3 separate regions of the Homo sapiens genome follow, and all the other regions are linked to region 3. Evidence: promoter capture Hi-C in 16 types of primary human blood cells and fetal thymus (Javierre and others, 2016). All regions are on one chromosome and are shown on one strand. Each heading gives the region's core, a stretch centred on a gene start or on the middle of the fragment in contact. The rest is flanking DNA. Distances are from core to core; before and after follow the strand shown. Region 1 holds the start of OTOG (otogelin). Region 2 holds the start of ABCC8 (ATP binding cassette subfamily C member 8). Region 3 holds the start of PIK3C2A (phosphatidylinositol-4-phosphate 3-kinase catalytic subunit type 2 alpha).

What was found. Contacts are between HindIII fragments. The CHiCAGO score rates a contact against its expected background, and 5 or more counts as called.
Region 1: a contact is called between the fragment with the promoter of OTOG here and the fragment with the promoter of PIK3C2A in region 3, in 16 of 17 cell types (M0 macrophages, total CD4 T cells, M1 macrophages and 13 more). The highest score is 34.5, in M0 macrophages.
Region 2: a contact is called between the fragment with the promoter of ABCC8 here and the fragment with the promoter of PIK3C2A in region 3, in 16 of 17 cell types (M0 macrophages, fetal thymus, M1 macrophages and 13 more). The highest score is 26.5, in M0 macrophages.

What each region holds. Positions count from the first base shown.
Region 1 is chr11:17,545,933-17,548,632 of GRCh38, reverse strand. It overlaps OTOG (otogelin), which reads right to left and starts at 1,374. Exons shown (of 56, transcript NM_001292063.2): 1 at 1,167-1,374; 2 at 646-706; 3 at 421-481. The coding sequence starts at 1,260. The HindIII fragment of the contact is 7,774 bases long and covers 1-2,420 here.
Region 2 is chr11:17,475,420-17,478,119 of GRCh38, reverse strand. It overlaps ABCC8 (ATP binding cassette subfamily C member 8), which reads left to right and starts at 1,275. Exons shown (of 39, transcript NM_000352.6): 1 at 1,275-1,491. The coding sequence starts at 1,344. LOC124902641 (a long non-coding RNA gene) reads right to left here and starts at 1,469. Exons shown (of 2, transcript XR_007062609.1): 1 at 1,389-1,469. RefSeq lists an enhancer at 2,063-2,619. The HindIII fragment of the contact is 8,626 bases long and covers 93-2,700 here.
Region 3 is chr11:17,206,698-17,209,397 of GRCh38, reverse strand. It overlaps PIK3C2A (phosphatidylinositol-4-phosphate 3-kinase catalytic subunit type 2 alpha), which reads left to right and starts at 1,412. Exons shown (of 33, transcript NM_002645.4): 1 at 1,412-1,550. RefSeq lists silencers at 1,264-1,343, 1,694-1,953 and enhancers at 1,484-1,593, 1,099-1,621, 1,622-2,145. The HindIII fragment of the contact is 7,601 bases long and covers 1-1,451 here.

The DNA.
Region 1 (2,700 bases), core at 125-2,624, 340 kb before region 3:
CATTCTTGAGGCTCCGCTCAGGGTATGGAGAGGAGCCTCTGACAGGGTTGAGGGCCTTCGCAGGCCAGTCAGGGAAAAGAGAACTCCATTCTTCTAAACGTCCATCTTTCTACTTTTACCTGCCAGAAGGGAGAGCTCAGCTCTCTCCTGAAAGAGCCCTGGTGCCCACCTCTCCTAAAAAAAAAAAAAAAAAAAAAAAAAAAAAAAAAAAAAAGAGTGGACTATAGACCCCCAAGAGATTAAAAAGAATAGAAGGGTTTTATGAACTTGCACACCTCAGACACATACCAGGAATCTGCTTGTTCCTTTCTGAACAACTCCAGAGACCCCTCCTGTAACCTACAGAGCTCCCTGCCAGCCTCAGATCCAGATAGACATGAGCTCCTGCTCAATGAAGCCCCCTCCCAAGACCTCCCTTACCTGGCCTCCCACGACTGTAGCCTTGTCCCCCATGGCAAGGGTCGCCTCCTGGTGGCTGCTGCTGGAGGAAACACGAGTCTGGCATGGATGGGGGGCTAGGATGGGTTATGCCTCCCCGCAGTCCCCTGGCCTATCCCACCCTAAGTGCTAAAGCCCTGGGGTCGCTGATGCCAGAAATACGGATGGGAGCTGTGGGTGGGGCCGCCACAGCTCACACCTACTCACCTGGGTTGCCCGGCTGGCTCTGGCTGTGGCTCTGCACTGCCCCACAGAACGGGTGCTGCGGCTGGGGAGGGGGATTATTCTCCACTCAAATTGTGCTTGTCTTTACTGGGGCCTCCCACCACCTGGCCCCCACTGCTAGAAAGCCTCTCCCACGCCACTGAGCATTCCCCCATTCTCCCTCCCTGCAGCCTTCTCAAATCCTTTCTCTCCCTTCCTGATGACCCTTCTCCAGCCAGGATCTCCCTGTTTACTCTCAGTCTTTGGCCCCCAGCTCTCTCTAGTTCCCCACCTCGGGTCTCTTCCACCCAGCCTAACTTTGGACTCTTTCCCCCGCGGTCATAGGCCTGCCTCTGTTGGCTTCGGGGTCCCTCCTCCCCTGACTGCTCCTCCTGGGTGTCCCTCTGCTCTCCCTCAAACCTCTCTTTCCTCCCTCTCTCCAACCTGCGCGGGCCCATTCCTCATTCCTTTAACGTTTCTCATTCCTCGAGCCCCCGACCTCCCTGAGTCCACAACCCTCTCACCGAGGCGCTGCACCCGCAGGGACTCGGCTGCCTGCTCACCCCAGGGCAGCCAGACACAAAGCAGCCAGCAGAGCGCAGACGCCAGGACTCCCATAGGGACACGAGGGGACCGGAGGACTTGAGCGCAGGGCCAGCCTCCCGAGGTGCCTCCCCGGGCTAAGGCAGGGTCACACCTCCACTCCGCAGCCGAGGTCCCTCTTGTTCTCATGCCCCAGGGCTCCCTCAGCCCCTCCTCCCAGGCTCTCAGCTCCTCCCCGAACTAGAGTGACAGGAGTACCCAGCTTATTACCATAATTTAGGCGCCTGTCCATAGCCTAGCCTCTGCTTTTCTTGGCCTGTGGCCACACCTCCCCAGGGGAGGCTGGATTCAGATTACTCAGCCCTAAATTGTCTAGGGAAGCATAGAGGCAGCCTATGCAACCTCCAGCTCCCCTTACCTGGGTCCTGGAAGCCCAATACCAGAGACGCAAGATGCAGGTATGAGTCTGGCCCTATCCTCTCCTTTTACAGAGGGCCATGCTGAGGCCCTGGGACATGCCACTCAGGGATCAGTGGTCAATAACAGAGCCTGCAGAGTCCTAGCCTATGTTCTCACCATGCCCCACCTCAGCTTCCACCTGGGTCTCCACATCCGTATCCTATGACCAGTTTTGAGCACCTCTAGGGAATGGATCATGCCTTAGTCCTCTGAATGCCCAGCACCAGCTCCTGCCCGAGCTCAGGAAATGACGATTGAATAATAAAAGTGTTTCATACTCCTATGTTATTGCCACCATCAAGGCCAAACTTTGACAAAACAACTTTATATGTGTGAACGAGGTCCACTGTCTGCCCAGGAGGAATTTTAAAATGGCAAAAACATGGGACTGAGCACCTGGGGAATCTGTACATCATTCACTTCGTCATCACTTAGGGAACACCAACTAGATGCTAGGTCTTACAGAGGATGATGATGATGGTGGTGGTGGTGGTCGTGGTGGTATTGGCCCCAGTAGACTTCTAGGCAAGGGTATAGATTTGAGATGCATTCATTCATTCATTCATTCATTCATTCACTCAACAAATTTGTTTGGCATTGATTCCATGCCATGCACTGTTCTAGGCATATAGTGGTAAATAAAGCAAACACAGCTATCTTCACACAGGAGGAAGCTGGGGGCACAGATAGGAAGATGAAGAGGAAAGAGCTAAGGATGGAGCCTTAAGGAATGCTGGTTAAGGAACAGGCAAAGACTGATTGTCTCCAAGGAAGCTTGAAACAAAAATTCATGAGAGAGGAGAACCAGGTCTCAATGCTATTCTCAAAACAAAGCAGGGGGCATTTTAAGGTGGAGGGAGTCTGTGGGGGTAATGGCCAATGTAAAATAAGGATTGGTGTGGCAGGTGAACAGCATTCCCCTGGATAAGGACATTCATTCACCTCTGCCAGGATTCTAAATACAAAATAAACAGCCATATGACATTCTTTTCCAATGTAGAGAATCAATGAAGTAAGTCGGAGGGGAATGCATTTTGTGTGGCCTTTTCTGGACCA
Region 2 (2,700 bases), core at 26-2,525, 270 kb before region 3:
GCCTCAGGGCCTGGGCAGAGCCTCGGCCTTGCTGACAGCGTGCTGGAGAGGCTCACCAGGCTCAGCAGCCTCAGGGCAGGCTCAGTGAAGCTTGTAGGCAAAGGGGCTGAAGGGGTCTTTCTTTTGTGTTCCCCTGACTGTTCCTAAGAACATGTGCATTTATGCTTCATACCCTAACTAGGAAAGTTCTCCTTAAATCTAACCCCCAAATCCCATCTTCTGTTCTTTCTACATACAATATAAACTTCTTTGGGCCACAGTCTTGTGAGAATCTCTCCAAAACGTATAGGAAGACATAATGTTGTCTTTACAATTGCACGGTGTCCTCCAACTGTTAAGCCTGTCCCAGGTGAGGTTAAGAATTTCAGTCCCTCTCCACTGCCTCACATCCATCTGGCCAGATGCGTTTCTTAAACTCCTCTTTATCAGCCTGGGGCTGTCACCCATTCTACCCATTGGTCTGCCAGTCGCTGTAAGGTTGTCATGTACCAGAGGCATGAGTACAAATGATGGGGGTGGGGACGGGGGACCTGAGGAGCTGGGTTCAAGCTATGCTTCCCTGCTTGCTGGCACTGAGACCTTGGGGGAAGTCATGTTACTGGCCTCCCTTCAGCTCCCTCGCAGCTTGGGTTTCCCCATCAGAAAATTGGAAGCGATTAGAACCTGTACTTAGCAAGAGTTCTGGGACATCCCTTGTGTGAAAGTGCCAGATACGCTGTAAAGCAGTACCTAGGAGTGCCCCACCTGGGACCACTTTTGAAAATGTCCAAGCCCCACCCCACCACCACCACCACCACAAGGTAACGTTCTGCCCCACTTTTCTCATCCATGTTGGGTGGAGACTTGCGCCATCCCTCGGCTCTCTACATCCATCCGCACCACGCCCAGGTGAACTCACACTCGGGACCCTGAACCCGCCCACTCCAGGCCTTGCGGGCCCTTCTCTCCTCTTCTGCACGCCCCACCCTCCTTTCCCACCCAGACTCCAGTGTGCCCACACCCCACTCCCCATCTTAGCCTGCCTTTCCCCTCTCCCCCAGCGCACGCGTGCATCAGGGCACTCACGAAGCCACCCCGGCAACATCTGGGAGCACGCGCCTCCACATCTGGAAGGTGGGCGCAAGCGTAGCAGGGCCGGTCGGGTTCCTCGCCGCCCCCCGGCCCCGCAGGTGGTGGAGCAGGGCGGGGTGAGGGAGGGGGAGGCCAGCGGGGCTGGGCGGGGCCCGGGGGGCGGGGGCCTGACGGCCGGGCCGGGCGGCGGAGCTGCAAGGGACAGAGGCGCGGCAGGCGCGCGGAGCCAGCGGAGCCAGCTGAGCCCGAGCCCAGCCCGCGCCCGCGCCGCCATGCCCCTGGCCTTCTGCGGCAGCGAGAACCACTCGGCCGCCTACCGGGTGGACCAGGGGGTCCTCAACAACGGCTGCTTTGTGGACGCGCTCAACGTGGTGCCGCACGTCTTCCTACTCTTCATCACCTTCCCCATCCTCTTCATTGGTGAGTGCGCGCAGCGAGCCGCGGAGGAGGGGACGGGAGAGCAGGGAGGGAGGAGGAGGCGCTGCGCGCCGCACCGCTCGGCGTCCCCTTCCGGCCCGCGACCGCCGTCCGCCTCGTTCCCGGGGTCCCCTGCCCTGTGTCCTGCCCGCCGGTCCCCGCACTCGCACACCAGCTCATCCCTTCACTCCCCCGGTGCCCCCGATCCCGCGCCAAACACAGCGGACGTTTGTGACCCATGGGATCACCAAGTTTTGCTTCTGCAGGGCCAAGAGCTGGGATGGGGAAAAGGGAAAGAGGAGGTCTCAGCACGCAGTGGGAAACTGGAGAGGGGTCGGGCCTCACCCTCCGTGGCGCAGCTTAGGGAGCCGGGTCACCCCTCCCGCAAGGCAGCCTCCCTGTCAGCCGCAGCTGGGCCTAGGGAAGAGGGAAGCCTGTGCTTTGGAGTCTGGGATGGAGGCCCAGCTAACCCCTATGCTTTCACCGGGCTGAGCCGCGCAGTGGTCCGTGATCTCTGACAGTCCCAGGCCCGCGCCCTGGGCGAGGAGAGGCGAGAGCTAGGGACTTGGATTCCCTTCCCCCGCCACCCCACCCGGGCATGTGTCTCCAGAGCGCAACTTCTCAGGCTCTGCGCAAAGTAGCTCCGACTCGCCGACGCAGCGACCCCGGCGCCCTTGCTTGCAAAGTTGGGCGCCACGGCCGGGACAATCGTGCGTGCCTCTCCACTGAGGTCCCCCCCATCTCTCTCCAAGACCTTGACTCTTCCAGACCAGTCAAGTCTATCAACTCATAGGGTGTCCCCTGCATCCCCAAAACGTGTTCATTCACTTTAAGAAAACAAGCAAATCTTAAAATTCATATACAGCTTTGGGGAAGAAAGGAAAGATTGTCACAAAATTAGATTTACAAGAGGTTGCTGCAGAAGCAGAGTTGCTAGTTATTAACAAAGACAGTTAGATAGAAATAGAAATAAAACATACAAAATATGTGCTCATATGTGCATCAAAAATCAAAAAAGAACAGCATTTACACTTCTGTTCTCAGCCAAACGGTTTATTAACCTGATGACTTGTCACACAAGAAGTTAGTATGTATAATGGGGTACCTTGGCAGGGCACAGTGGCTTACATCTGTAATCTCAGCATTTTGGTGGGCTGTGACAGGAAGACTGCTTGAGTCCAGGAGTTCGAGACCAGCCTGGGCAACATAGTG
Region 3 (2,700 bases), core at 163-2,662:
TGATCAGAAGATAAAGCAGAACAATGCTGCGGAACTAAGTTGATTTCTAAGGGACATTCTTCTAGAGTGTGTAGCCTGCCTGGAAGTGTGTGTGCATAGAGGAGGGGCGGGGTTGGGGGAAAGATAGGAGTTGGAAGGGGGGGGGGTGTACAACAGCCAGTAGCTACAGCCGTAAGAAATAATCACATTTGTTTCTAGAATTCCCCATAGAATAGAAACTCCATCCAATTTTACCATCCCTGCGGAGGTGCAGGCATGTTTATTACAGCGCTATGAGGGATTCATCCACTCCACATTCCCCATTGCCCTAGCCCCCTTTCGCCAACCCCCGTCCCTGCCAAATCAGGCCAATTTCTTTCTTTCCAGTTATTTGCTGAAAGTTCAACTTCTCTTAGAGCCTTCTAATTATGCGTATATCATATAGGCTGATAATTTTTAGTTTAGGCTGAGAAATGCAGCCTAAATCAGTCTGCCACATCAGATTGTGAACGTCTGGATGGTGTGGACCCCCTTCTCCTACTGCTTAAAAGACAATCTTGTTGTAAAACGCTATGGAATCGTTCCTCTCCCCTTAACATCTTTGTGCCCCAGAAGCCCCATCTGTAAATGGGGATAATTTTCCTATATCTTCCCATGGTTACGTAATTTTTAGATCTAACACGTGAGGACCAAACGCTTTACAAGCATAATCTCATTAAATTCTCAATAAGAATATATTATTATGGAGGTTGCATGTGAAAATACTTTGTAATGTAGAAAGAGCCGTCTGGCTGTGAGTTATTATCAGGGGGTTATCTTCCTTACCTGGCTGTTGTGAGGATGAAACGAGACGCCGACCTGAAAGCGTTTTACGTGCTATCAAGCATTTTACAGAAACCACGTGATAGGCTACTAATTACCCACCGTATACCACCTGACCCACCGTGAGGCCTCGGTAAATACTGGTTGGAGTGGACGAGTTTAAGTCTTGCCTGTTCCTTTCAGTCTTCCAATCACAAAGTAATCTCGGCGCCGCCAGGGGCCAAGACACAAATCTGGGAACCTCAGCCTAGATGGAGGAGGGTGCGGGGTCCCGGGAGAGGGGATGAGAACAATAGGGTACTTCAGTGCCCGGGCCCTGTTTAGCGGGTCTTCGGACTCAGGGCCCGAGGGGCGGCCAGCTGGGGTGTCCGGAGAGCTCCCCTCCCCAGGTCTGGGGTGTGCACGGAGAGGCGTCCAGAGCCTGCTCAGCATTCCTCGGGAGAGAGCCAGACCCTGGTCCCCCGGGCCCGTGCGCCCCAGCGCCCCAGCTCCCTTGCTCACGCCACCCCGGCAGCGTCCAAGCCCCGCCCGCCAGCTCAGGTAGGCCGTCCGCGCCAGCCAATTCGCAACAAGTCCGGGCGGGGAAGGCGGTGCTTCCCTGTCCGGAAGTGACGTGCTGCGCTTGGCTGGCTGTGGAGTCGGCCGAAGCTTTCGGCGGCGGCTGAGCCAGCTGAGGGGAAAAATGGCTCGGACTGTGGCGGCTTCGGCGGCTCAGGTTGTGGTAGAGGCGGAGGCTCAGGCAGCTTGAGGTGAGGAGCGGTCGGTGCGGCTGGGGACGATATTCGGGGTCCTGCTCTGCAAGGGTGGAGAGGGGCCCCGGGGTTCCCGGGCTGGAAGGGTCTCTTGTCGCGGCCCCCAGTGCCTTGGGTGCCCGCGTCTGACCCTCCATCCCGTGCTCTTGGCGTTGCCCAGCCCGACTCCCCCCTCCCTCCGGGCCTTGCTTCCACCCAGGCCGTGAGCAAGTGCTGCGCTGGAGGTGCGAGGAGCCCGCGTCCCCACCAGGCCCCTCTTCTCGGGAGCGGAGGTGCGCCAGGGAGTTAGTTTTGTCCCACAGAAGGAGGGCAGGCCCCCCGGCCGCCGGCCCCCCTCCCCCGCCTTGTCCCGCGGGACCGGGCTGGAGCCGCAGTGGCCGGTCCTATTTTCTTGGCAGATTGTTAGTTCTGGCGAGTGTGTGTGTTGTACTTCTCAGTGACGGCCCCTTCTTTCACCTCCTGTCCCATCTCTGGCTCTGGGGGCCAAGGATACTTTTTCTTCTTCCCGGACCCCCCACTCCCACCGCGTTGCCTTTAGCCGCGAATCCACTTGCTTTGGGAACACTATTCTTTCAGTGTGTATTTAGCGCATCATCCTTCTGAGAGAGCGGTCAGATTAAAAAATACTAGCTTAACTCTTCCTGAGTGACGGAGGAATCATAAATAATTGAAGAAAAAGGCACATACTTATTTTCCTCACTGAATTTCTGGCTTTAAAAACGACATTCTCTAGCTGTGGAATTATTTTTTGGGGGAGGAGGGATTGAGGAGGGAAATGAGGAAGGAGAAACTAAGGAAAAAAGTCTGGACATAACGTGGAAGAGAGAGCCTGTTGTAGTTCTTTTCCTATACTGGCCCGATAGAAATTGAGGTTATAATTATATTCTTATTTTGAACAGTGGGGGTTTGAATTAAGTGAAACGAAGGAGGCCTGCCTCTTTGAACAAGATTAGTTATTAAAGAATGTCCTGAAATCTTTCCTGGTGGGTTTCAGGCAGAAAAGCTCTGTTGGGAAAATTTTTAAATCTATTGTAGCATCAAAGGCCACAGCATATAAGAGATGCAAGAAGAAGAAAGCTGTTTGTAGGGGAACGGTGAAGACATAGTAGAAAGAGGGAAGGCTGCACAGAAGTCCAGGAACTAATTC